Regions from separate parts of the Homo sapiens genome. Here all the other regions are linked to region 2. The links are contacts of gene promoters, found by promoter capture Hi-C in blood cells and fetal thymus (Javierre and others, 2016). All regions are on one chromosome and are shown on one strand. The core of a region is centred on a gene start or on the middle of the fragment in contact, and the rest is flanking DNA. Distances in the headings are between cores, read along the strand shown. Region 1 has its middle 46 kb from the start of ARL6IP6. Region 2 holds the start of RPRM (reprimo, TP53 dependent G2 arrest mediator homolog). Region 3 has its middle 63 kb from the start of ARL6IP6. Region 4 overlaps ARL6IP6 (ARF like GTPase 6 interacting protein 6). Region 5 has its middle 130 kb from the start of ARL6IP6. Region 6 has its middle 140 kb from the start of ARL6IP6. Region 7 overlaps ARL6IP6 (ARF like GTPase 6 interacting protein 6).

Region 1 (4,228 bases), core at 1,398-3,897, 710 kb after region 2:
TTCATTAACAGCACTGTGTGTAACCTTACAGAAGTATTTTTCCTTTGAGAACAAAAATAGGCTGCCTATGGAGATGGGAAGAAAATTTTTTATGGGTTATGTTTTTTGGTTTTGTGAGTAGAATTCTTTGGCTAGAGGCTACATTACATGGGGAACTTTAATAATATACAAGGCCATAGTAGTTGAAAACTTTGGCAGACCTTGCGACGCAAACGTCTGTAGGGTACTGGCAGAGAGAAGTCTTGTTTAGCTAATAACTCTTTAGAGAAACAGCTCTTTCTACTGGGGCATTTTCGAGAATGAACACCACATCTTAGAACTCCAGGTAACCCTATGACCTCAGCTTTCCATTCTGGACCAGATATTATCCGATTCACTTTGTCATCAACATAGATGAGGGTTTTTCAACCTTGGCACTATTGATATTTTGGACTGAATTATTCTCTCTCCTGGGGAACTGTCCTCTCTGCTGGGAACTGTAGAATCTTTGGCAATCTGGCCTGTTGACTAGTTGCCAGTAGCAGCCCCCGATTGTAACAATCAAAAACATCTCAAAACATTGCTAAGTAATTAGCTAAATTTCTATGTTTTGCCCCTGGAAGGCAAAATTGCCCTTGCTTAAGAACCACTGACATAGATGCATCCTTTCATTTTCCTCAAGTCCTGAGTAAGTTGTATGATCAGATTCCCATCCTGCTTCCTACTGTCATGCAGCCTCTCTTCATTCAGTCCGCAGCCTGGCCTCACGAGGGTTTGGTATAGATAATTGACTGATGTTGAAACTCAAGCCCAATTTATAGATGATTCTGTGTAATATGTTACTACCAGCCAAAAATGAGGTGGTGGGGGGCATAAACCCCCATTCATAGGTGGTAGCAATGTGCAGTGAAAAAGAAATTTTTCCTAGGGAGTTCAATATAAATTTCAAGCAGTTCATACTGTTGTCTCCTTGGCTAGAAGAAGTATGGTATGAAATAAGGATTATGTATATTCAAGGAGAGTGAACTAGTAGTTTGGCTGGATTGCCAGGGACTTGACAAAGGACTGGTGCCAACTTAAGAAAGGTGGGGAAGAGATATATAGATGGAGCTCTTTAAATGGACCCAGAATTGAGAATATTTCTGAGCTATGTGAATGCTCACAACAAAGCCTTCATTGCGAAAGAGGCTCTAAATAATCAGGTGGACAGCATAACCTATACTGTAGATGGTAGTCTCTGTCAAGCCAATGCTTAATGGGAGCATAAAATGCTAGGATGGTGGGGTAGTCAGATGGACCCACACTTTCAGAGGCTTTCCTGGCTGCTGCTGCCTTTCTATCTCTGCTGCCCCACTCCCACCCCACCAACTTCTCTCCCTCTCTCTCTTTATGGCATCATATCTTGGGGGATGAGCCAGCTACCTGATAGCCAATTAATTGCATTAGATGAGGTAGCACTTAGCAGTTTTGTCCCCACTGGTAGATACATTATGGTCTTAGATTTGCTTTCCTTGCCTCTGGCAGCCCTACTATTTACTGCATAATTTATACATTATCATGGATTCCCACCACATTGCTCTGGTCAAGGAACTTACTACCCTGAGGAGGTAAGACAACGTGCTCAATTGCTCAATTCTTTTTTCTTTTTCTTTTTTTTTTTTTGAGACAGAATCTGTCTGGAGTGCAGTAGTGTGATCTCGGCTCACTGCCCTCTGCCTCCTGGGTTCAGGTGATTCTGTCTCAGCCTTCCTAGTAGCTGGGGTTACAGGCATGTACCACCACAACTGGTTTTTGTATCTTTAGTAGTGACAGACTTTCACCATGTTGCCCAGGCTGCTGTTGAACTCTTGGCCTCAAGTGATCTGCCTACCTCAGCCTCCCAAAGTGCTGGGATTACAGGTGTGAGCCACCACACTTGGCCACACTCAATTCTTATTTTGTTGACTTCTCTCTTATAATGCACCTTCAACACTGAAATAATCTATTCAAGAGTTAGTTATTAAGCTAGCTGACAGTTAACACTAAAATGGCATCTTTCTGGATGCAATGTATGTTTTTATCCAAGAACTGATTTTTGCTGGTTTCTCCCATGCCCATATTACATGGGTTCAAGAACCAAGACACTGCCGGATGTTTCTATTACACCCAGTGACCCAATAATAAAGTTTTTGCTTTCTGTTCTTCTGAGTCTGAACTCTGTTTTAAAGGTTTTAGTACTTAAGGAAGTTCAAAAAGAAAACTGGTTCAGAAGAACCGGAAGTTCAAACTGCCATCTGGTAATTTTAGATTCTGTATGCCATGAATAATCATGCAAAAAAGAGGGTCACTATATTAGTTGGTGTGTTTTAACATTATAATACAAATGCTGCCACATAATAAGCAAGGAAGAATATAGAAGGAAAATATATTTGTTCTCGTACTGCCACATACAGTGGCAAAAGATGAACTAAGAGCTGAAATGTGTCAGAAATAAAGCTTTGGTCGCCATTATCAGGGAAGAAACTTAGCCAACGTAGTAGCCAAAGCAAAGATAAAATAGAATACATGTGTATAGAAGGGAAGGTGTCATAACCAAATGCTTAATTTAAATGACAGTAACTTTGATCTGTATTTTCTTGCTCTCATATATAAAGTGTATTTTAACAAGTTTCCCATCTTTTTGTCCTTCTTAAAAATATTGTTCTAGTTCACATAAAAAAGCAATGTCTTAATAAGTATTAAAATGACTAGTATAATTTGTAGAATATCAATAAGAGAATGTGGCAAAACTAGAAGGGACATAATCTGAAGGTCCTGGCTTTGGTATTGGATATAGTATACAATGGCTACATTGTTACATATGAGTACTGTTGTAAGCTTAAGGGTGAAAAGAGAAGCTGACCAGCAGAGTGTACAGTGATTATTTGTATTTGTGGTTGCTTGATATCCATTCAACCATCCCAAAATAATTTCAGATGCTGCCTTCAACTAGAGAAGCCAAAGGAGTAGGCACACAGTCTAATCTTGGCCAACTGGGCACTCTCTGCAAGGATCCATCTATATACATTATCCTGACCAGGCTATTCCCACTATCAGACAGTCCCTTTGCTTCATTTTCCTTGACTCTCTGGCACTTTCTAGGTTCCTCCCCACCAGTCCTGATTCCCTTTTCCTTAGTCAGATGGTGTGACAGTTAATATTAAGTGTCCACTTCATTGAATGATGCAAAGTATTGTTCCCGGGTCTGTCTGTGAGGGTGTTGCCAAAGTAGATTAACATTTGAGTCAGTGGACCGGGAGAGGCAGACCCACCCACAATGTGGGTGAGCACCATCCCCTCAACTGCCAGAGAGGCAATAATAAAGCAGGCAGGTGGTGGGAGCAGTGGACTTGGTGAGTCTTCTGGCCTTCATCTTTCTCCTGTGCTGGATGCTTCCTGCCCTCGAACATCAGACTCCAAGTTCTTCGGCTTTTGGACTCTTGGACTTACACCAGTGGTTCTCAGGCCATTGGCCATAGACTGCAGGCTGCACTGTTGGCTTCCCTTCCTTTGAGGTTTTGGGACTCGGACTGAGCCACTACTGGCTTCCTTGCTCAACTTGCATACAGCCTATTGTGGGACTTCACCTTGTGGTCGTGTGAATCAATTCTTCTTAATAAACTCCCTTTCATGTATACATATATCCTATTAGTTCTGTCCATCTACAGAACCCTAATACAGATGGTTTCTGGCAGCTGACATAACCAAGAGCATGGGCAGAAATAGGAAAATAGACAAATATAGAAAATCTCTTTTTAAATCTGACTTACCAGAAGTCTGTCAATCATATCTTTTCCAGGAAACGACTTTTGGTATTGGATATTGTCCCCACTTCTTTGGTGTGAGTCTCCATTGATTGTATCCTTATCTTTCCTATTTCCAATCTTTCTTGTGTGTGTGGTGGGGGCGGGGATGTTACTCTGCTGCTTGTGCTTTTTATCTGCATTCTTAGCTCTTTAGCTTTCAATAGTACTTTCGTCCTGATAAATGTATTTGAAGTTATAAATTACCCTTACACAGTGTTTTATCTAGGTCCTACAAATTCTGACATGTAGTATTTTCACTGTAGTTTAAGTATTTTGTTAAGTATTATTCTTCCCATTCGACAGGTAAGGAAACCGGGAAATGCTAAGATATTAAGTAACAGTTGTAGTTCAAACTCATTACGTTGTATTAACTAAAGAATCATATCTTGATAACTACAGTAATATTCTTTCTGATAACACTTAAG
Region 2 (3,699 bases), core at 1,020-3,519:
AATATAAAAACTCTCCTGACTCCAAGGTTTGATCATTTTAACACTGACCTGACGAAAACAGCAATACTGTTCCTAGCAATAAATATACTCAAATTCTGATAATGATTCAACTAACACTTTTAGCATCCTTCCATATTGGATCTTACAAATGTACTATAAACTAACTCTTGGTTTTTGTCACATAAAGAAGGGGCTCTCCATTTGCTTACACCTAACTTCTACTGAACACACAGTTCTGTACAACTTGATCCCTGGAGGTGGGCCTCTGTTCTCTGACCTTTTATTTTTCTAAATTTCTATTACTTTTCTCTACCATTCATCTCAGGATGACTTTATATTGCCTTAAATTTGTTGTAATTTTTTCCATGTATACATTACGTTTTATTATTCTTGAGGACTACCCACATTAACTAAGATAGACTGATTGTATGATGAGATTTAAGTAAATTCTTACTTATCAATTATTAATAAATTTCTTCAAAGAAGAAATTGCCGAGAGTGAGGTATTTTTCAATTCTAATTAAATTATGGGAAACTAGAACAATAAGCCAGTGAATTGTGGTAGAAGCCCAAGCCTGAATTTTCAGCTGTTAAACATCCCCCTCAAAATAATAATAGCTATTTTAAAAAATCAAACTTATTGCAGCTGATATACCATAAATATCAAAAAATTGAAAACTCAACCAGAAGGCATTTCATTCTATTTTATGATAGTCATGAAGCAGTGCAAAAACATTTAAGGAACACTCTGAAGATGGAATAAATGATGTTTTAAGAAACAGAAATAAGAGGATTTACCAAGCAAACAGAATGAAATTAAGAGTAGAGTTGAAAATGGCAAGACAGCTACTATTTTTCAGTTTTATTTTATTTTTAATTGACAACTGTACATATTTATGAGGTACAAAGTGATATTTTGATACACATATACATGTGGAATGATCAAATCAGAGTAATTAGCGTACCCATTATCTCAAATTTTTATCAGTTCTTTGTGGTGAGAACATTTAATAGAAAGTAAATGTATTCTATTGGAAGCTCAAGTTACTGGTTTCCAGCTGTTACAGCTGAAAGAAAGAGGGAGGAAGGCAGGGAGTAATGGGGAAAAGGAGGGAGGGGAAAGAAAACAGAAAAGGGGGAGCGGGAACATGCAATATTCTTTCAGAGTTAAGAAACTTAATCTGACAGGTTTATAGAATTTCGTTGGAACCTAGAGCAAAATCACAATGGCTGAAGCGTCAATCAGGCCTATAAAAACATCTGTGTTTAGTTTAAATGACTAAGGGTGAAATACATCAGCTTATGGAAAATGGGGAGGGCTCCCAGTATTTGGCCAGCGTTCTAGGTGATGGATGTTGATGAGCAATTCCCTTCAACAACTGATTTACTGCCAACGGACAAAATGCTGGAAGCACATCCAAAAACTTATCTGCAATTAAAATTACAAGCAAGTGGTCACTCTGTTCACCTCCTTTACCAGAGAGGTGACCCTGCTCCCGGCAACTACCTCCACCCAAGGGCCACAGAAGAACTCCTCCTTCCTCTAACCCTCTTTCCTTGGCCTCAAACCTCACGGTAAAACCTGCCTTGCTCTGTCTCCCAATCGCTTTTGTAAAGGAAGCTGGGTGTAGAGCTCTTCTTTCTCCCTCCCTTCCTTTTTTCTTTCCTTCCTTCCTTTCTTCCTTCCTTCTTCCATGCCTTTCTGTCTTTCCAAATTCATTGCTTTGTAAGAAACATTCTCAGATCACCTCCACTCCACTAGAAATCCAACGCAGGCGAGTCGGAGTCAAGCACAGGCAGTGGGCGGGTGGCCTCAGCCGGCACCATCTGGCACCTGCGATTCATCGCCACTTTCCATTCGCCCAGAGGTCAGGGGGGCAGCAGGCAAAGGACACGCAGAGCTCGTGTGTCCCAGTTCCTCTGAAACTTTCAGCTGACCGCACCCTCCCCCGACAAACTCTTTAATCATCCATCAAGCTAGAAGAGTACAGTGACCTCTGCCTGGCCTTTGGAGTTTGCAAAAGAAGCAAGCAATAAAAAGCAAGACCAGGTTCGCCCCTTTGCTTCCTCCACCTCCCAAGAGCAGCGCGCAGCGCGGCGGTGCGGCCGGAAGGGGCCGCTGTTTGCTCAGCGCAGCCACCCCGCCGCTGCAGCCGCCGCGGCCCGCACCTCCCACGGCCGGGCTGGTCCAGCCCCGCCAAGTTCCAACAGCCCCCCCTCGAGCGAGCGCCGGGAACGAGCACCACCAGGGCTGGAGCGGACGGCTTTAGAAGAGCCTAGCTGCTGCGCGCGTCGGAGAGGCTCCTGGGAAACTCCCACGGCCCAGGGACTTTCGAAAGCAGAGCGAGGAGCCCTCGCACGCGCTAGTCTGCGAGTGAGCGCTCAGCCCGGCACCTGTTCCTCCAGCGCCGCCGCCTTCCCACCCCTCGGACCCGCGCCGCTCGCGGCGCCCGCCCGTTCCTGCGATGAATCCGGCCCTAGGCAACCAGACGGACGTGGCGGGCCTGTTCCTGGCCAACAGCAGCGAGGCGCTGGAGCGAGCCGTGCGCTGCTGCACCCAGGCGTCCGTGGTGACCGACGACGGCTTCGCGGAGGGAGGCCCGGACGAGCGTAGCCTGTACATAATGCGCGTGGTGCAGATCGCGGTCATGTGCGTGCTCTCACTCACCGTGGTCTTCGGCATCTTCTTCCTCGGCTGCAATCTGCTCATCAAGTCCGAGGGCATGATCAACTTCCTCGTGAAGGACCGGAGGCCGTCTAAGGAGGTGGAGGCGGTGGTCGTGGGGCCCTACTGACCCGCCCTCTGCCCCCGCGGCAACCGCTCCCACGCCTGCCCACTTTGCTAGCCCGGCTGTGCCCCTCACTATCAGAGACTGGGCGAAGCAAACCTGTCGGAGTCAATTATTTCTCTCGACTTCGGCCTTTCGGAAAGAAGCGACCGGTTTCTCCCTCGCCCTCTGAAAGTCCTCATGCCTGGCAGTCGGAGGAGAGCGCCCAGACTCTGAACTCAGCAGAAAGTGGCAAGAAGAGGGCGATTAGGGCGCAGAACTTTGGAAGCTGCTACTTACTTGGAATGCGGGGAGACCGACGGTGCGAAGGCCCTTCTCCACCCGCAGGTGGGCCAAGCTCTGGGGGCAGGTGGAGAGGGCGGGCAGGGGAGAGACCCAGCGGCACTGATCGCCTTGTGACCGGAAGAGTGACCTGTTAAAAGCCACGCAGCAGACTCATGGGGTCTCACAAATCCGTGTCCGGGTGCGCTCCCACTCTTCTCCTGCTCCCCCCCTGCCCTGGAGGGGAGGGGCGATAAATACCTTTGATTGTAACGTGCCGTTTTAAGAGGTTTTGTGTTTGTTTGCTTGAATACAAATGTTTGATAAGTCTTTTTCTGCCCCAGTGGCCTGTTTGCCTGCCTGAGGAGTTACAGTTTTGTCATTGTGGGAGAAGGGGTGGGGGGAGGGGGAGCCTGCGAATTTGAACGGGGTGAGTTGTTTCTTTTAGTGCATTTCCCACTGGGTCTTTTGGGAGGCGTCTAGCGTTCCTGCTGGCCCTGGGACAAAGACCCAGAATAGAACTCGTAGCTCGTGACTGCACGGTTTACGCCACAAAAGTGCTCTTGACATCCGTGACACCGTTTTGACTTTTTGTTTTTTTCTTATTTAACATTTCCTTAATAAATGCAACATTTAAGCGTTTTGTTCC
Region 3 (4,150 bases), core at 1,399-3,898, 700 kb after region 2:
ATGGTTGTGGATTTCAGAGCATAGCAGCTGGGGTACTCAGTCAGTTATACTCTTCATAATCAGAGACCCAGAGGTATACTGTTATGGCTGCCACATGCTATAATATGATCCCATTTATATTAAAAATAAAACACATACAAAATTATACTATGTATTGGCCAGGCTCATGCCTGTAATCCCAGCACTTTGGGAGGCCAAGGCAGGTGGATCACCTGAGGTCAGGAGTTCAAGACCAGCCTGGACAACATGGCGAAACCATGCCTCACTAAAAATACAAAAATTAGCTGGGCATGGGGGCACCTGCCTGTAGTCCCAGCTACTTGGGAGGTGGAGGCTGCAGTGAGCTGAGAGCACACCACTGCACTTCAGCCTGGGCAACACAGCAAGACTGTGTCTCAAAAAAATAAAAATTATACTATGTATTATTTATAAATGCACACATATGAATTAAAAATGTAAAAATCAGCCAGGCATGTGGTTTGTGCCTGAAGTCCCAGCTACTCAAGAGGCTAGGCTGGGAGGATCCCTTGACTCCAGGAGTTTGAGTCCAGCTTGGGCAAACACTGTGAGACCCCATCTCTAAAAAAAATTACATTCGTATTTATAACTATATATACACACACATATGAAACAGAAACAAAAGCACTCACAAACCTCAGAATTGTGGCTACTTCTGGATAAGGAGGAAGGGAATGAAATAAAGAGGAGAAATATTGCGGTCTTAAACTGTTTCTGTAATATATTTCTTTTTTTTTTTTCTGAGACAGAGTCTCACTGTCACCCAGGCTGGAGTGCAGTGGCGTGATAGCTCACTGCAACCTCCACCTCCCAGGTTCAAGTGATTCTCCTGCCTCAGCCTTCCAAGTAGCTGGGATTACAGGTGCACGCCACCACACCCAGCTAATTTTTGTATTTTTAGTAGAGACGGGGTTTCGCCATGTTGGCCAGGCTGATCTCAAACTTCTGACCTCGGTGGTCCACCCACCTCAGCCTCCCAAAGTGCTGGGATTACAGGTGTGAGCCACCGTACCTGGCCAATATATTTCTTTAAACAAAAAAAGATCGGAAGCATAACATATGGCAAATGTTAACATCTGTGTTGGGAATCCATAAAGCTACCCTGAGGTTCAATGATTCATGAGGGTTCACAAAAGCTGTTATACTCATGGTTATGATATATCACAGCAATAGGGCACCTAATCAAACCATCAAACAATAAATTTATAGGGCAAAGTCTGGGAGAGACCAGACACATGCTTCCAGTTGGCCTCTTCCAGTGGAGTCATACAGAAAATGCTTAACTCTCCCAGCACCTGTGTGTAACAGAGTTCCCTTTGTTGACAAAGGGAACTCTTCCAAGCCTTGGTGCCTAGGGGCACTCACATAGGCACAGAACAACCACATGATCAACCTTAACTATTCAGTCTCTAGCCTGCCTCCCCGGAAGTCAAACTGATATAGCCATAACACAGGTGAACAAAAACTAGCATTTACTATAAATCACGTTGTTAGCATAAACTATTTGACATGGCCCAAAGCCCCTGGTATACAGATACTTTTATCAGGCAGAATATTCCACAAGCTTATAGGTTATCTCCCAGGAATCAATTAAGGGCCTGGCCTTTCTTTGGAATGTGCAGGGTTTAAACACCACAAGTCCTCTGAGTTAATCCTTTTTAAAAAATCTGGATGGTGAGAATTTATATTATTCTGTTTATTTTTCATTGTTCAAAATACTTTATAATAAAAAAGAAAGGGAAGAAAGAAGGAAAGAAGGAAAAAGAGGAAGGCAGGCTGAAATTATTGATATGGGCTCACAAGCAGAGATTCTGGACTCAGCAAGTTTGCTTGAGGGGTTAGAAAGGGCTCTGACAGTTTGGTTGACTGAAACATGGACCAAAAGATGTCCTATGCTAAATAAATTGAAATGCCAGAACTGCCTTGGTATATTGTAGAGGAAGATATCAAAAGGCTTAAGGGGATTGGGATGTCAGAGTGGATTTATCAAGTAAGACCCGCTCATTCACACTGGGAGGGTCCAGAGGAGAATTTTAATAATCCAGAGCCTATTAAGACCCATTTTATGGCTACCAGCCAGCTTCTTTCCCTAGCCACTACTGTCATTGTCCAGTGGGCTCATGAACAAAATGGCCATCCTGTCAGGGATGGAGATTATACAGGGCTCAGCAGCATGGACTTCCACTCACCAAGGCTGACCTGGCTGCAGCCACTGCTGAGTATCCAACTACAGCAGCAGAGAACAACACTGAGTCCCCAGTATGGCACCATTCCCTGGAGGGATCCGCCAGCTGCCTGGTGGCAGATTGATTACATTGGACTGCTTCCATCATTGAAGGGAATTGTTCTTACTGGAACAGATACTTACCTTGAATACAAATTTGCCATCTCTACACACAATGCCTTTGCCAAAACTACCGTCCATGAACTTACAGAATGCCTTAGCAGCATCATGGTGTTCCACCTAGCGTTGCTTCTAACTAAGGAACTCATTTCACAGCAAATGAAATGTGGCAGTGGGCCCATTCTCCTGGAATTCACTGATCTCACCATGTTTCCCCATCATCCTGAAGCACCTGAGGTGTTTGCTGAGGGCAAAGAGAATATAAAACGGGTAGAGAAAAAGGTAGTTATATATCAGCTACAGCCATGTGACCACTTGCTGAAATGAGAACTGTAATAGTTACAAGTATTTCTTGCTTATTTTGTTATGAATGTAATTGATTGTGTATACATAAAGCAAACATTCCCTCATAACCCCCATCATCTAATACAACATGCATTAATACTAGTGAACTTTACATCACTGTATTTAAGCTACAGATATCAAGAAGGAGAGTGAACATCACCCACAACAGTATGGAGATGCCATTAAAAATTAAAAATAAAACTACTGTACAATCCAGCAATCCCACTTCTGAGTACATATCCAAAGGAAATGAAATAAGTATCTCAAAGAGATATCTGTACCCCTATGTTCACTGCAGAATTATTCACAATAGCCAAGATATGAAAACAACCTAGGTGTCTGATATGGTTTGGCTCTGTGTCCCCACCCAAATCTCATACCCGATTGTAATCCCCATAATCCTCACATGTGGAGGGAGGGACCTGGTGGAAGGTGATTGGATCATGGAGGTGGTTTCTCTCATGCTGTTCTTGTGATAGTGAGTTCCCATGAGATCTGATGGTTTTATAACTGTTTGACAGTTCCTCCTACATGCACTCACATTCTCTTCTACTGCTTTGTGATGAAGATGCCTGCTTCCCCTTTCTCCATGATTGTAATTTTCCTGAGGCCTCCCCAGCCATGTGGAACTGTGAGTCAATTAAACCTTCTTCATTTGTAAATTACCCAGTCTTGGGTATTTCCTTATAGCAGTGTGAGAACAAACTAATACAGTGTCCATCAATGGATGAATGAATAAAGAAAATGATGTGTGTGTGTGTGTGTGTGTGTGTGTGTGTGTGTGTGATGGAATATTATTCAGCCACAAAAAGAAGAAAATCCTGCCATTTGCAGCAACGTGGATGAAACTGGAGGACATTATGCTAAGTGAAATAAGCCACACACAAAAAGTGCTGTATGATCTCACTTATATATGGAATCTAAAAAAGTCCACCATCTCATAGAAGCAGGATGTGGAACAGGGACTGGAGGAAATGGGAAGATATTGGTCAAAGTATGTAAGCTTTGTGTTATAAGAAGAATGAGTTCTGGGGACCTAAGATACAGCATGATGACTACAGTTAATAATACAGTATTATTTATTGAAATTTGCAGAAAGAGTAGAATTTAAGCATCCTCAACCCTGCTCCCCAATACACACAAATAGGATAACTATGTGTGGTGATAGATGTCTTGATTAATTTGATTGTGGTAAACATTACAACAATGTATATGTAAATCAAGCCATCATGTTGTATACCTTGACTATATGTAATTTTTATTTGTCAGTTATATCTCAATAAAGCTGAAAAACGTTACACATAGGATAGGATACATGAGATCCTGTAAGGTAGAAATATAACCTATACTTCTGTTAGGTAGAAATATAACCTATACTTCCGTTAGGTGGAAGTATAAACTATGGTGGTTATACTTCCACCTAACAGAAGGCTAACCTTCCAG
Region 4 (3,689 bases), core at 803-3,302, 730 kb after region 2:
TTAGAATTTTAAAGAGAATGCTTCCCTAATTTCACTTCTTTGCTATGTCTCTCCTTAAGGAAAAAATAACACACATGACTTTGCCTCTTACTTTTTACTCTAAAGTTCTTTATAACTTTCTCAATTCCCTTTTCATTCACCAAGATTTACAGAATACTCGGTATCAGGTATTAAATTACATACAGGAGATAGAGAAATTAGTAGGGCTGGATGCGGTGACTCATGCCAGTAATCCCAACACTTTGGAAGGCTGAGGCAGGAGGATGGCTTGAGGTCAGGGATTCCAGACCAGCCTGAGCATATAGGGAGACATTGTTTCTACAAAAAAAATTTTGGCCAGGCATGGTGGCTCACGCCTGCAATCCTAGCACTTTGGGAGGCCAAGGCGGGTGGATCACTTGAAGCCAGGAGTTTGAGACCAGCCTGGCCAACATGGTGAAACCCCATCTCTACTAAAAATACAAAAACTTAGTTGGGTGTGGTGGCCTGTAATCCTAGCTCCTCTGGAGGCTGAGGCAGGAGAATTGCTTGAACCCAGCGGGTGGAGGTTGCAGTGAGCCAAGATCATGCCACTGCACTCCAGCCTGGGTGACAGAGTGAGACTATCTCAAACCAACAAAAAAAGGAAAAAAAAAAAGAGAGAGAAATGAGTAAGGAGTCAGTACTGCCTTCGAAGATAACAGAATCTTGTGACGTAGTAGATTGTTTTGCAGGCAGTATTACTGGAACATAAAGGAGCCATTCAGCTTGTAGAAGGGGAGAAAAAATTCCAAAGAAGAGCTAATACCTGAACTAAAATTGAGTATGAGGGATTTAGTGTTCTAAACACCTAACAGTATGCGCAGAAGCAAGAGACAATGGAGAGAATAGGAAGCTCAATTGTTTAATATGATCAGAATGAAAGACCTGGAAAGCTAGCTCTCTCCTCACTGGAGTTTAGTCATGGCTGTACTAGTCACAGAACTATTTTAACCTACCAGAAAATCTAATTCTCAATCTTTAAAATGAGGATAATAATTCCTTTCATTAGTGTTCTTATTAAAACTAAATGAGATAATATTAACAATTAGTTGTTGGCTGGGCGTGGTGGCTCACGCCTGTAATCCCAGTGCCTTGGGAGACTAGGCCAGGAGGATTGCTTGAGCTCAGGAGTTCAAGACTGTCCTGGGCAACTTAGTGAGACCCTATCTCTACAAAATAAAAATAAAAAATTTAGCCAGGCATAGCAGCACTCGCCTGTAGTCCCAGCAATTTGGGAGGCGGAGGCAGGAGGGTTGTTTGAGCCCAGGCAGTTGAGGCTGCAGTGAGCCATGATTGTGCCACTCTGCACTTCGGCCTGGGGCAACAAAGCAAGACCTCAAAAAAAAAAAAAAAAAAAAAAAAGAAAGGATAAAATCTCAGGATAAATAACAATTATCCAAGAAAAGATAACTGGCAACTTGTGGCAGGCCATGGTCAGACTTCCAGCTCAAAAAACCTTAAGAAAAGAAAACCTCTGACACTATGTCTGCTTTATCATCTGACGTATCTGTTGCTTTAGTAAACTTACACTTACTGCCTATGAGGGTACCATTATTTTTACTCCATTTTAGAGATGAGGAAGTTATAGCTTGGATATACTAACTGACTTGCTCAAATGTCCTTCTGCTAGGGTAGGTTGGATTTGGAAGCTACCTCTCCTGACTTCAAGACCCTTTTTAATTATATCAGGCTGCCTCTGGTAATTTATAGGTTGTTAAACAAACAAAAAGGGTTCCAAGTACAAAATTGGCAAGCACTGTCTCTCAAGTATTTCTTGTCAGTATTGCTCTGGGCATATGGACACTTGTCCCTCTTCAGCTACTCATATATAACACTGTAAATAGCACAAGCAAGAGCAGCTGGGCAAGGTGGCTCATGCCTGTAATCCCAGCACTTTGGGAGGCCGAGGCAGGTGGATCACTTGAACCCAGGAGTTCGAGACCAGCTAGGGCAACATGGCAAAACCCCGTCTCTATAAAAAATACAAAAATTAGCCAGATTAGCCAGATGTGGTGGCGCATGTCTGTGGTCCCAGCTACTCAGCAGTCTGAGGTGGGAGGATCGCTTCAGCCCAGAAGGCAAAGGTTGCAGTCACCCAAGATCATGCCACTGCTATCTAGCCTGGGCAACAAAGTGAGAACCTGTCTTTAAAAAAAAAAAAAAAAAAAAAAAAAAAAAAAAAGGTACAAAGCAAGCACTCATTAGCTGTATCACTTTATGGAAACAATAAAACCAATAGTTAATACAATTTCCTAGAGGATTTTGTTATATCTATGCATATCTCCATTCAGAACAGTAATGAAATATATCTTACACAATATGCATGTACTTTAACCCTTTACTTCAAGAAGCCGCGGTGCAATGCCATCAATATATTCATTAATAGTGACAGCACTGTAATTGATGGCTCTGAATAGTCCCCAGATAATGAGATTTCATGATACTCAAATATCAAGGCCAAGTTCCTGAACCATCTCTTTTGTCAGTAGCTTTTCTCTCCTACTGCAATTAGCCATCTGACATCTGTTTCATTAGTTCATGGCAATAAAGAATCTGATTCGACAAAGAGGCAGCTCTCCAAAATCTGTATCAAAGAGTAGTAGAGTCAATTCACTGTGCTCAATGTTAAATCTAGTCTGCATGGAAAAGAAATTTCTAATTTGAATACTAACTAACCCACTGTTTTTGACCTCCAAGGCTTATATATATGCCCAAGTTAAGAACCTGTAACACTCGTATATTATTTTATGCTAAAGATGTCCACATATACTTATTTCCAAGGAGGGAAAATCAGTGCTTGTATTTAGTTATGAGGATAGGCTAACTGTATTAAAGAAAACTGAGTGCTGCTGGAAATTTCAAATTTCAAGCAATTCAAACAAAAATCAACTTGTTCCCTTTTCTTGAATTGCATATTATGATTCAACTGTTTTATTTGTTCTCTATCTTCCTAACCCTCAATGTGAAGACGTCAGAGAAAAACCCTAATAACAATATTTTAAAGACCCAAACTAATGTTGAATAGAAAAGTAACATTATAATACAGGATGCCAATACTGAATCCTGAATGTTCCAGGAAATTCACATGTCAAAGTATTTTACTATCTGCTGCTCCCTACTACAGTTAACAACACACTCTCACACACAAATGTTAGCATCTAATTACATACAGAACGCTTTACATAGGAAGTAACACATGTAAAAGAGTAATAGATCATGTTACTCTCTAAAATAGTTACTAAAAACAATTTACCAAAAATTAATTCAAACTAAAATTAACTTGTTCCCTTTTCTTTCTCACTTACAATTTATTTTGCAGATTCCAGATTGCATTGTAAGGCAATACAATTTTTTTAAACAAGGATGCATATAAATAATGTTACATTAAATAAAAATTAAATTAAAAGCATGTTTTCTAAAATTGAGTGTCTGGATATTTATCAAATGTTATTTGTGGTTGGAAGAAGAAGAAATGGAAAGATGGATAATTCATAGTGATCAGACAATAAAGATTGATAGCATGAGGAAGGTAGCAGATACCCGCTGATTTGTATATTAACTGTGAAATAATGCAAATTCCCAATCTAATCTCATAGATTATATTTTAGCAGGCATTTGTGAAAAAAAGACACCACTCTTTACCTTGGCATATGCCTAGAAATCATGAT
Region 5 (3,963 bases), core at 1,044-3,543, 630 kb after region 2:
TCTCTGCAGCCACTCTCCTCAAATCTGCCACCACTGGACCCTTGACCTCAGGTCCCTTCTCTATTCAGGTCAGTGGTTTTCAAACTGGGCCCCAGCGATCAGCCTCAGCTGCATCTAGGAATTTGTTAGAAATGCAGATTCTCAGGTCCCACCACAGAGCCACAGAGTCACAAACTCTGGGGTTGGATCCCAGTAATCTGTTTTAACAAGCCCTGTAAGTGATTCTGACGCTCGTGGAAGTTTGAGAACTGCTGCTCTGCCACATCATCTTCTTATGTGTGACAGTTAACACAATTTAACTATAATGTTTCTTGATTCATTTACCATTTATTAACTTCCACTCTGGCTACCTATTAGAAACACCTGTGGAGCAATTTAAAATCCCTATTCCCAAGATGAGAATGAGGCCTAACAATACAAATGGGGAGAGGGGAACAAGTATCAGTATTTTTTTAGCTTTTTTTTTTTTTTTTAAGAGACAGAGCTCACTTTGTCACTGAAGCTGGAGTGGAGTGGCACAATCATAGCTCATATAACCTTGAACTCCCAGGTTCAAGTGATCCTCCCACCTCAGCCTCCCAAGTAGCTGGAACTACAGGTGTGCGCCACCACACCTGGCTAATTTTTTTTCTCTTTTGTAGAGACAAGTTCTCGCTATGTTGCCCAGGCTGGTCTCAAACTTCTGACCTCAGGCAATCCTCCTGCCTCGGGCCCTGAATGGGCTGGGATTCCAGGCACTAGCCACTGTGCCCAGCCATCAGTATTTTCTCACTCTTCCCGTGGATTCCTAGGTGTAGCCATGAGTAGAAGTAGAACCACTGCCTAAAAGAGGCTTGACCTTCAGCCAGATATAGGTAAGTGACTCTATCCTGCATGCAGGGACTCAGCTACACTGAGTTCTTAGAGACAGACTTTTGGGTCTCAGTTCTGATAACTAGACTACTGCCTTCTTCCTCCATCCACATCCCAGTTTGTGCCTCTATTCTGGTTAATGAGTTTCTGCTTATATCCCTGTGTTGGTAACTGACCATTGCTGTAGTCCTATGGGAAGAGGTACACTGTATGTAAAAGTAGAACGACTTTGAGGTCAAATACATTGAATCCTGGCTCTGCCACTTACCAGCCATGTGACATTAGCTAAGATACTATGAGAGAAACAGTAAAATCACCTGAAATCTCAACACCTTCAGATAACCACAGTTAATATTTTATAACCAACCTTAATGCACCTCTTCATACATGTCTATACAGGTATGTACATACACATGTATTAAGTTTCACATAAATGAAATTCTGCAACATGTGTTGTTTTTGTTAGTGTGGAAAACTCCCCTAGTCCTTCGTTTTTCATCACTTCAACCTCTAAATTCCACTTCTTCCCTCTCCTCCAGCCAGGAAACTATTGTTAACAACCTAGTGTAATCTTTCATTGCTTTTCTAGGTTCACAGAACACTCAATACACACATAAGGGTTTTCCCTCAATTTTTGGCTTTTTAATAGGATATTAATATATATATGTACTTTCTGGCATCTTTCATTTCATGCTTAAAAATACATTATATGCTGGGTGCAGTGGTTCACACTTGTAATCCCAGCACTTTGGGAGGCGAAGGCAGGAGGAGTGCTTGAGTCCATGAGTTCAAGACCAGCCTGGGCAACAGACGGAGACACCGTGTCTATTTTTTTTAAAAGTTTAAGATAGAAAAAAATGCATTATGGAACTCTCTCAAAGCAAAACTAGTATAAATCTGTATAGAACTAATACATTATTTTTATTGGTTACATACCATTCCATCCTACGAATTGGCAAAATATATTAATATGCATTAACTTATTTCCAGAAAAATACCACAATAAACATTCTTGGGGGTGGTATGTACATACACGTCCTTACACACTGAAGCTTGATTTCTCTACAATAGAGTTCTTGGAGTAGGATTTCTGGGTCAAATCGTGTGTTTAATTTGCTTATTGTGGATATTGCCAGATTATTTTCCAAAAAGGCTGTAACAACACACAACACACATGTCCAGAAACAGTGCATGACAGTGCCCTTTCCCACATCCCTGCCAGCAGTAAGTTTATCCATCTTTTTAAGTTTTTGCCAATTCAATAGATGGTTGAGAAAGGAGAACTCAATATTTAATTTGCATTTTTCTTATTAGTACTAACGTTTAAAAACTGTTTCATATGTTCATTACTCATTCTGGATTTGCTCTTCTGTGAGTTACCTAGCTACAACTTTAATAGAAAAACTTCCAAGAGAGTTTGCTATTTGTTTTCTATTTATAACAGTTCTTTGCCCATCATTGATATTTATTCTTTGTCTGTTTTATAGAATGCATATTTTTCCCAGTGTCTCATTTGTCCTAATTTTGTTTATGAAATTTTTATCCTCTAATTTCCTAATGTAATCATACATGTCTACTTTTATGGTTTTTCACTTCCATGTCTTGCTTAAAGGGCCTCTTCAATCTGGATTTCACTAATTTTCATCTAAGATTTTTATTTTTAAAAAAATTTTAAGTATTTGATGCAGCTATAATTTATGTTTATTATATAAAATAAGGTGTCTCATAGACACTGTCAGCACTTCCCTTCCCCTATATCCTTCAGAATATTCCATGTGCCCTTGTAGATTTCTAGCTGCCAGTGTCTGAATCCCTGGGCCTGAAAGCTTTATAACAAACCTATGAAAGGCCATTAGCACCATGCCTCACAGGTTCATAGTACCAGGGAATTAGCAACATCACCATCACCACCAAGCAACCCTCCAAAATGAGTCTCCAGAATTGGAATAAAAATATCCAGTTTCCTTGACTGGAGCCAGCTAAATAATTTGCAGGGCCCAGTGCATAATGAAAATCTGAGGCCTGCCCTGGGAATATGGAAGTCAGTACCTCTTTCCCATATACCCACTGCCCCAACTGGTGGTGGATGGGCTACACTCAAGGGATTGCAACCTCTACGTCAAGAGGCACTCAACCTAGATCAAGGGTGGGTGAAAGGCTCTCACTAAATTGCCCACCAAAAGTGCCAATGATGCTGCTAACCCAAGGCAGAGACTCTCAAGTCCAAGTGCAACCACCGCACACCCAACACATTCACCCAGGCCCCTGCTAGTTGTAAAAAGAAACAGCAGAACATGCTCCCGCTTCCTATCCCACCCCAACCCATACAACCAGGTTACCACTATAGAGAGAGGGTGGCAGGCATTGCAGGGCAGCCTCTGAGCCCCCAGGTGGTAGAGAGCTAGCAGACAAGAAACTTCCAGAGGAGGTAAGGAGGCAGGAGAGGTGGGGTCTGTGAGCTAAGACTGTAAGCCCCTGGGGTACGCTCTATTGTCCCAGCAGACTTCACTTACTAAAACACAAATTCAAAGATAAAGAATTAAAAATGTTAAGAGGCTACTAGAATATTAAATACCAACAGCAACACCCTTTTGTATATCAGCACAGTGACATTAAACTTACTGAAACAAACAAAAAAGGAGATACAACATATTAAAGCCTTTGGGAAGTAGCAAAGGGAATTCCAAAAGGGAAGTTTATAGCCGTAAATGCCTACATTAAAAAAAAAAAGATCTCAAATAAACAATCTAACTTTATACTGCAAGGAACTAGGAAAAGAAAAGCAAACTAAACCCAAAATTAACAGAAGAAAGGAAGTAATAAAGGTCATAGCAGAAATATAGAATACAAAAATTATAGAAAAATACTGCAAAATTAACAATTGAGATTTTTAATACACAAAATGGACAAATCCTTAGCTAGACAAACTAAGAAAAAAAAGGTTCAAGTAAATAAAATAAAAAATAAAAGTGGAGACATTACAATGAATACTTCAGAAATAAAAAGTATCATAAGGGACTATTATGAACAACTACATGCCAACAAATTGGATAACCTAGAGGAAATGGGTAAATTCCTAGAAACGTACAACTTGCCAAAATTAAATCAAGA
Region 6 (3,660 bases), core at 943-3,442, 620 kb after region 2:
CCAACAGCCTCCAATCACAGCATACCTAAGTCTCCCCTTTTTTCTACTATAAAGCTTTCCCACTTCTCTGCCTGCCTTGGAGCCAAACACAAGTGGTAGTGGCTGACTCCTTTACTGTAATAAGCTCTGAATAAATAGCCTTTGTGTTTTCTCATTTGGGTGGTCTTTGTTTATTTTCACAAAGTCTCCTAAAATAAATGTACTTAAATATGAAAAGGGCATTTTACTTAAAATCTAATTACATAATAGTATGGATGGTACATGAATATTACAAAAATTATCACAATGGTACATAAATGAGTGAAGTTTGGAAATACTGTATTCTCCGCAAGGCTAGATGTGCTATGCACAAAATCTTTTACAGGAATGCTACGACAAGCATACACGAGGTGTTCTCCAACCTCAGGCTTTTGCACTGGCTGTTTTCTCAGCTTGGAATGATTCCTCCACATGCATAAGATATGCTCCCTCTCCTCTTTGGCTCTTAGCTCAAATGTCCTCTCCTTTGTGAGTATTTGTCTGACTAGTCTGGTTGTTTGGTTTTGTTGTGTTTTGTTTGTTTTGAGACAGGGTCTCACTCTGTTGCCCAGGCTGGAGTGCAATGGTACGATCATTGCTCACTGCAGCCTTGACCTCCAGGCTCAAGTGATCCTCCCACCTCAGCCTCTCGAGTAGCTGGGACTACAGGCAGGAGCCATCATGCTCAGCTAATTTTTTCACTTTTTGTAGAGACTGGGTCTCACTATGTTGCTCAGGCTGTGACTATTCTGTTTTCAATAACAATACCCTCTATCCTGTCCTCCTACACTCACACAGTCCTTTCCACCTTTTGTATTTTATTTTATTTTCCCCATAGAACTTACCACCATCCAATATACTGTGTATTTTACTTCTTTATTTATGTGTTATCTCCCCCAACACTGCTACAATGTAATTCCCTAAGGATAGTGATTTTTTTCCCGTTTTTCTTTTCCACTCAATACTGAATCGTTAACACCTAAAACAATGCCTAGCACTAAGAAAGTCTTCAAAAATATTTGCTAACTGAAGAAAAGAAGGAATATTGTCAGCCTTGGAATGAGTAGAACCCAAGCTCAATTTCAGCTCTGTCACTTACTAGTTGTGCTAGATGTTGAGATGTGTCACCCAGACTCCCTTCTAGGGGTGACCTGTTGCCCCAGCTGTCAGCATTCAGGGTTTTCCTCAGCTGCAGAGTCACCTTACTGAGAACACACCCTGTAAAGACAGCCAACAACCAGTTGCTGATTGAGACGTTATTGACACAGGGGCATCACAATTTATTCTGATCAACAGAATGTACTCAGGAGCTCCCCCTGGTGTTGACTATAGCTAGTGGCGCCTGTGTCACATTTCAACTTCTTTATCCGCCCAATCCTGCTTCCTACCTCTTTTCTTCCACAGTTGTTAATCCTTGATAAGTATCCTGCACACCAAATCCCATCTCAGCATTGCGTGGGAAAAACCAACCTGTAACACCAGCTAAGTTCCCAGAATCCCATATGCAATATCAACTAAAACTTCAACTTTCCTCAGCTTCCCTCTTCCCCAAATCTTAGAGGTGCCTCTGAATGGTTATGACATATAATTAGCAGCCAACTCAGGAGCAACTTGAACCTCTCAGGGCATCCACACTCTCCTGCAGATCTATATGTGGGCAGGGCTGAAGAATGGTTCAATGTAGCACAAATTCCTGAGATGAGGCCTGGCATGCCCCAAGGATCCTGCCTTGGGGGGCTCTTAGCAAAGTTTTCTTTCCACCACGGTGAAATAAGGGATCTTTGTTCTGCTGCTATTTATCCTCCTTCTCCGTTCCCACACTTCACAGAAACACGTTTGTTTTTATTCACAGTGTTCGTCTCCAGGTCGTAGCCCCCAGAGGCACTCTAATGACTTTATAGCTAACACACCTCTGAGCCTGGATCAGGACTCTTCAAATAAACAATAGAAAATTGATAACAATAATTACAGCAACTAAACGTTGGCTTTCTAATGTATTCCAACCATTAGTAATGCCACAGACATCATGCTATTACACTGCAGTTAGTCATTTTCCGTATCTAGTTAGCTACACTGAGCTGGGAGGCAAATTACTAGTGACCACTGAATGAGTACAGTATGCAAATGTTGTACAACCCCAAATTCACGACTGTGTACCCAGTGCATAGCTGGAGCCGAACACTAAGATATTGGTGCTTGGAGATGCAGAGATGTGTTCAAGTTGGCCAAAGCAAGAAGGCAGGAGAGCAAGAACTCTCAAATTTGTCTGGGTTTTTTGTTGTTGTTGTTGTTGTTGTTGAGATGGAGTTTTGCACTTGTTGCCCAGGCTGGAGTGCAGTGGCACGATCTCGGCCCACTGCAATCTCGGCCTCCTGGGTTCAAGTAGTTCTCCTGCCTCAGCCTCCCGAGTAGCCGGCATAACAGGCATGTGCTACCAGGCCCAGCTAATTTTTGTATTTTTTTAGTAGACATGGGGTTTATCCATGTTGGTCAGGCTGGTCTCGAACTCCCGACCTCAGGTGATCCAACTGCCTTGGCCTCCCAAAGTGCTGGGATTACAGGTGTGAGCCACCACGCCCAGCCTCAAATTTGTCTTAACAGAAAGATGAAACAGAGAGTTTTTATACAGCTAGAGAAAAGGGGGAAGAAGTTTCAGGGAACTAAGAGGAAAAGTCTGTGTTTCCTCAGTCTCAGATAACACCTTATACAACCAGACTTCTGGGTGTCAGCAGCTGGTTGCAACATCTTTAAAGGCATACAATCCTCCTCCCAAAATTGTTTGTGTCCCTGAAGTTGTCTCTTCCTGCTTGACAAAGAAACAGTACACTGGCAATTTATAATTATATTGTGGGAACAAGGGATGTTTGGCAAAAAGTGAGCAGTTAACATGCGCAAGCAGGCAAGGGCCTAATGAGAATTTTCATTATTTCAGCCACTAAAAATGCTGGGGTACTGAAATCTCAAGGGATGAGCTTACACATTCAGTACAGATTTCTGCCAGGTTCTGTTTAGGTTTAAGTCCAGGTTCAGTATTACCTAGGAGTAAGAGACTTAAATCCCTATTAATGAATCCTCTCAGATATAAAATATCATAGAAAACATAATTTTCTCCATTCAAGGAGACGATTAGATTTTAAATATCTAGTTAGTGGGTACTAAGCTAAATAGAGAAAGGAAAGTACATTTTTTCTATTAAAGTCAAATAATATAGGTGACGACTTTAAAGATAAATTGATTATCTGACATATTATGACTGTTCTCTTGCCACTAAATTGAGAAAAGATCTGAATAAATCACAAGGTCCAAACAAGTAAATCTCATAGCAGAAATATTTTAAAAGAAAAAGAGGCTAAATTACCTGTAAACAACATTGTGTCTTCTCGGAACTCTTTCTTTTTTTGTGCTGTGTATGAAGGTATTAATAGCAGCTTTGCATGTCCAGGAACCTCTGAGCTGACACTGGTAAGTTTTCAGAAAACCCATTAGGCTAGCCACAGTGTTAAGTATTCTTTAAGTAAGAAATGGGAAACATTGCTTCCATCATAAATATGCATGTTTGGATGTAATCTGTGAGAAAAAGAGAGAGAGAGTGTGTGTGTATACAGTATTGGGTAACAACGTAAAATGTATTCATTTCTCTGG
Region 7 (4,167 bases), core at 345-2,844, 750 kb after region 2:
TGACATTTGAAATGTTTAAATAAACTGGTATACTTATATTATGAAATACAATGCAGTCATGAAAAAATGAGGTAGACCTATGTATACTAATACAGAATATACTCCAAAAGGCACTTTAACAAGGCTGCAAAATATACATGATTCCAATTATATTTTTCCTATAACAGTGAAAAAAACATGTATTTTAAATGACTATACATATGTAAACAAAGAGAAAAAGATGTAAAAAGACACACAGGTAGATCGGTGAAAGCCTTTGCTTTAATTGTTGGAATCTTTCCTGGTGAGATTAAATTACTTACGTAACTAATGCATTTTATGATACTAACAATGAAAATACAATACAATCATACACTGATGACAGGGATATGTTCTGAGAAATGCATCATTAGGTGATTTCGTTGTTGTTTGTACATCACAAGAGCGTACTTACAAAAACCTAGGTATATAGCCTACTACACACCTATGAGCTATACAGTTATATCCTATTATTCCAATGCTACAGACCTGTGCGGCATGTTACTATACCAAATACTGCACGCGACTGTAATACAACAATAAGTACTTGTGTATCTGAACATACTTAAATATAGAAAAGGTACAGTAAAAATACAGTGTAAAAGATAAAATATGGTACACCTGTATAGGGTACTTACAATGAATGGAGCTTACAGGACAAAGAGTTGCTCTGGGTCAATCAGTGAGCGAGTGACTGATGAGTGAAGGTGAAGGCCAAGGACACTACTGTCCACTACAATAGACTATTATAAACACTGTACACTTAGGTTACGCTAAATTAAAAAATTTTTCTCTTCATTAATAAATTAACCTTAGCTTACTGTAACTTTCTTACTTTATAAATTTTAAAATTTAACTTTACCCTTTTCTACTAACAGTTTAAAACAAAAGGACACTGTACAGCTGTGCAAAAATGTTTTTTCTTTATACCATTACTCTATAAGCTTCTATTTCTAATTTTTTAGTTTTTAAACTTCTTTGTTGAAATCTAAGACACACACACATTAGCCTAGGCCTACATAGGGTCAAGGTAATATCACTGTTTTTCACTGTCACATCTTTTTCCACTGAAAGGTCTTCAAGGGCAACAACATGCATGAAACTGTCATCTCCTATGACAACAATGCCTTCTTCTGGGATACCTCCTGAAGGACCTGCCTGAGGCTGTTTTACAGTCAACTTTTTTTAAGCAGAAGTAATATAATCTAAAACAATAAGAAGCATAGTAAATACATAAACCAGTAACATAATTGTTTATCAAGAATTATGTTATGTACTGCACGTAATTGTGCTGTATTTTTTTTTATGACTGGAAGGTTATATAAAACTAGATTGGTAATAGGTTGGTTTATACCAGCATCAACACCAACATGTGAGCAATATATTGTACTACCAAGTTAGGACAGTTGCAATGCCACTAAATAGGAATTTTTCAGCTCCACTGTAATCTTATGGGACCACCATCATACAGGCATATATGCAGACCACTGTTGACCAAAATGGTATGTGGTGTATGGCTGTACTTAGCTAACTTTAAAAGTTGTAAAAACTATTACCAGCTGGCTACTAATAAAACTTAGATGTATCATATGCATGAAACTAACCATCAATTTTTAAATGTTTATGTAAGCAAATGTTCTCAACTTTATTAGATTCTATAGTTTTCTAACTTGAGAGGATGACCATTATTTTAAATAATTTGGTATCCTCTCTAAATCACATTCTATAGATAGCTCAAGTCTTTAAATCCCTAGAGCAAAGTGTCTCTTTACACGTCAAAGCCAAGTGCAGGAGCAGAGGAAAGTGCTCTCTCCTCTCCTGCCAATGCAACATGAGCATAGTGGGTGCAGAGTGCATGGTAGCTATAGCAGTTACACTGGTTAAGGCCTTCACCCAATCGCCCGACCACCTGCAACCCAGACTGTAGCATTTCTACATCTTTCTGTTGAAACAGATGAGGAAGGTGATCCTCTGACAGATTAAGTGACTGAAATTTCAAAAATAAATAACACCTGTAGTTCCCAACATTGGTAAATCATTAGATTCACATGGGAAAATTAAAAAAAAAACCCAACACTTTTATTACAGATCATTTCAAACACAGGAAAAAGTTGAGAGAAGTATATAAAACTCATATACCCATCATCCAGCTTTAAACAATTAATTCATGGGCAATCCTGTTAAATTTATATTCTCCTCTGAAGCTTGTAATCTTCAGTATAACAGGGAAAACAGTCATCAATATTTTTATCATATAAGTCCAAAGAGGCTTTTTTATTTCCTTTATTTTCATGACACTTGAAGAATAATTTAGAGAGCAAAAAGACAGCAGGAAAAAAACTTTGTTAAAAATTTTCATAAGAAATAAATACAGCAAATCCGAATTTCAATTCCCAGTTTCCCTAAAGTCATGTACACCAAAAATGGGCACGACCTGAGTGCAAATAATTGCTTACTAACTTCATGTATGAATCTACAACATATCCATCTTGTAAATACCACTTCCAGATTTCAGATACATCTCAAATTGGTTACAGCTTGTCATTATTCCTGCTTTTTTTTTTTGCACTTGCGTCATTAAAACACAATGTTTGAAGGAATTTTTAAGCCTTTCATGGCTTATTTTGACGAAAAGAGGACAACAATCTTCTTTGCTCCATAATTTGTAACATATTTTCATTTTTAGATTACAAACAATTCAAATGGTCAACCCAATAATTCTTTTTTGCATTTTTTTTTCCAAATCACCTTTGTATACACATCTGCCCTTAGCATCTGTCCACTTACAAACAGTATCAAATAAATTAGGATGCAGACCTCATAAAAGATGAAAAAAATACTTAAAGTCTTAGGAAAGTCTTACTGGAATCCTAATTCCATCATAATTATTTTATTCTTTCGACCATAGTTGAGAATTGATGAGTAATACTAAAATAATGAAATAGGAGAATGTTTTGAGAAAGAACAATATGTGACCACTAAAATCCCAAAACGTATTTCAAAATTAAAAAATGTCCAATAGACCAATGTGGTAATTTCAAGATCAAATAAACTTTATGAGAAATATAGCTCAGTTTTCTTTATTCTTTTGAAGATCCCTAAGAAAGAATAAGTCATGAAATTTCAATCCTTACAAACAGAACTGCTCGAAATAATTCAGAAATGAAAAATGGTCCAATGAGCCCTGATTGTACAGTGTACACTGACACATACAGCCAATTAAGTTACTTCGATTCAGTAGATAATTATAGGGTCTAAGATTCCGTAAAAGCAAAAAAAGAAAATCTCCAGGGTCTTCGTTTTTTTGCTTTTTTTTTTATGTCAGGTTTGGGAACTACTAGGCCAGTGGTGTTCAAAGTATATATAGCCCCCTAACTAGCAGCATGCAGAGCATCAACTCAAAACTTGTCAAAAATGAAAATTCTTGGGCTCCATCTCACACTACTGAGTCAGATATTCTGCACCATGTGAAGAGCAGCAAAATTTATCTTTCAGGTGATTCTGATGCCAGCTAACTTTTGACTTCATTAGCCTAAGAAACGTCCCTCCCAACCACCAAAGTTGGACTACAGAGTACCACACAATGTCAACTCAATTTATTGAGATTTAGGGGTCCTAATGTCTGGTTCTTATTACTGCTTTTATGTGTTAAGAAGAGTCCTGTAATAATTTCATGACTAATAATTTAGCTGCACATGGCTAATTCTTGCTGATAACCCATTCTTTTTCTGCCTTGCTATACTACCTAGACTATCTATGGTATAAAAATTATAATACATACTTTCTTGAGTTTTGGTTTAGAAGAAAATAACATTGATGGATACAGTGTAGTTGAGAATACTAGAGGAAATAACACACAAATTAATGGCTTTTGGCATATTGTAAAAGTGCAATAAATGGTGTTATTGTTAATTACTGAAACATTATTCTCTAAACTTAAATTTGTGCTTTCCCTTAAAGTTTTTCTTATTGCAAGTTACACTTATACATTGTAGAAAATAAAAATAATAAATACAACCAATCAATTCGGAAACCCAGATAAACTAACATTTTGATTATATCCTTCCAGTCCTTTTTGGCTTTCTCTCTTTTTTTTTTTTTTTTTTGGCCTTAGTCATCATTTCTTGAATAATACAAATAGGTAAGACA

The links. The method cuts DNA at HindIII sites, captures the fragments that hold promoters and counts their contacts. A CHiCAGO score of 5 or more calls a contact.
Region 1: a fragment that was not itself captured here is called in contact with the fragment with the promoter of RPRM in region 2 in 3 of 17 cell types (endothelial precursors, M2 macrophages and M1 macrophages); the score reaches 6.6 in endothelial precursors.
Region 3: a contact is called between a fragment that was not itself captured here and the fragment with the promoter of RPRM in region 2, in 1 of 17 cell types (M2 macrophages). The highest score is 6.0, in M2 macrophages.
Region 4: a contact is called between a fragment that was not itself captured here and the fragment with the promoter of RPRM in region 2, in 8 of 17 cell types (endothelial precursors, M2 macrophages, M1 macrophages and 5 more). The highest score is 10.8, in endothelial precursors.
Region 5: a contact is called between a fragment that was not itself captured here and the fragment with the promoter of RPRM in region 2, in 2 of 17 cell types (M2 macrophages and M0 macrophages). The highest score is 8.0, in M2 macrophages.
Region 6: a fragment that was not itself captured here is called in contact with the fragment with the promoter of RPRM in region 2 in 5 of 17 cell types (M2 macrophages, endothelial precursors, M1 macrophages and 2 more); the score reaches 19.9 in M2 macrophages.
Region 7: a contact is called between a fragment that was not itself captured here and the fragment with the promoter of RPRM in region 2, in 1 of 17 cell types (M1 macrophages). The highest score is 5.6, in M1 macrophages.

Annotation. Positions count from the first base shown.
Region 1 is chr2:152,762,670-152,766,897 of GRCh38, reverse strand. No RefSeq gene overlaps it. Among named protein-coding and RNA genes, the nearest start is that of ARL6IP6, 46 kb to the right of the region's middle. The HindIII fragment of the contact is 381 bases long and covers 2,457-2,837 here.
Region 2 is chr2:153,477,332-153,481,030 of GRCh38, reverse strand. It overlaps RPRM (reprimo, TP53 dependent G2 arrest mediator homolog), which reads left to right and starts at 2,269. Exons shown (of 1, transcript NM_019845.3): 1 at 2,269-3,693. The coding sequence starts at 2,466. The coding sequence ends at 2,795. It also overlaps a transcript of GALNT13 not described here. RefSeq lists a silencer at 2,035-2,234 and enhancers at 2,591-3,094, 3,095-3,598, 3,599-3,699. The HindIII fragment of the contact is 6,762 bases long and covers 1-3,699 here.
Region 3 is chr2:152,779,527-152,783,676 of GRCh38, reverse strand. No RefSeq gene overlaps it. Among named protein-coding and RNA genes, the nearest start is that of ARL6IP6, 63 kb to the right of the region's middle. The HindIII fragment of the contact is 2,128 bases long and covers 1,585-3,712 here.
Region 4 is chr2:152,744,516-152,748,204 of GRCh38, reverse strand. All of the region lies in intron 3 of ARL6IP6 (ARF like GTPase 6 interacting protein 6), which reads right to left. Among named protein-coding and RNA genes, the nearest start is that of ARL6IP6, 28 kb to the right of the region's middle. The HindIII fragment of the contact is 4,628 bases long and covers 1-3,689 here.
Region 5 is chr2:152,842,748-152,846,710 of GRCh38, reverse strand. No RefSeq gene overlaps it. Among named protein-coding and RNA genes, the nearest start is that of ARL6IP6, 130 kb to the right of the region's middle. RefSeq lists an enhancer at 1-400. The HindIII fragment of the contact is 774 bases long and covers 1,907-2,680 here.
Region 6 is chr2:152,859,215-152,862,874 of GRCh38, reverse strand. No RefSeq gene overlaps it. Among named protein-coding and RNA genes, the nearest start is that of ARL6IP6, 140 kb to the right of the region's middle. The HindIII fragment of the contact is 4,271 bases long and covers 57-3,660 here.
Region 7 is chr2:152,724,067-152,728,233 of GRCh38, reverse strand. The region is part of intron 2 of ARL6IP6 (ARF like GTPase 6 interacting protein 6); the gene reads right to left. Among named protein-coding and RNA genes, the nearest start is that of ARL6IP6, 7.5 kb to the right of the region's middle. The HindIII fragment of the contact is 1,260 bases long and covers 965-2,224 here.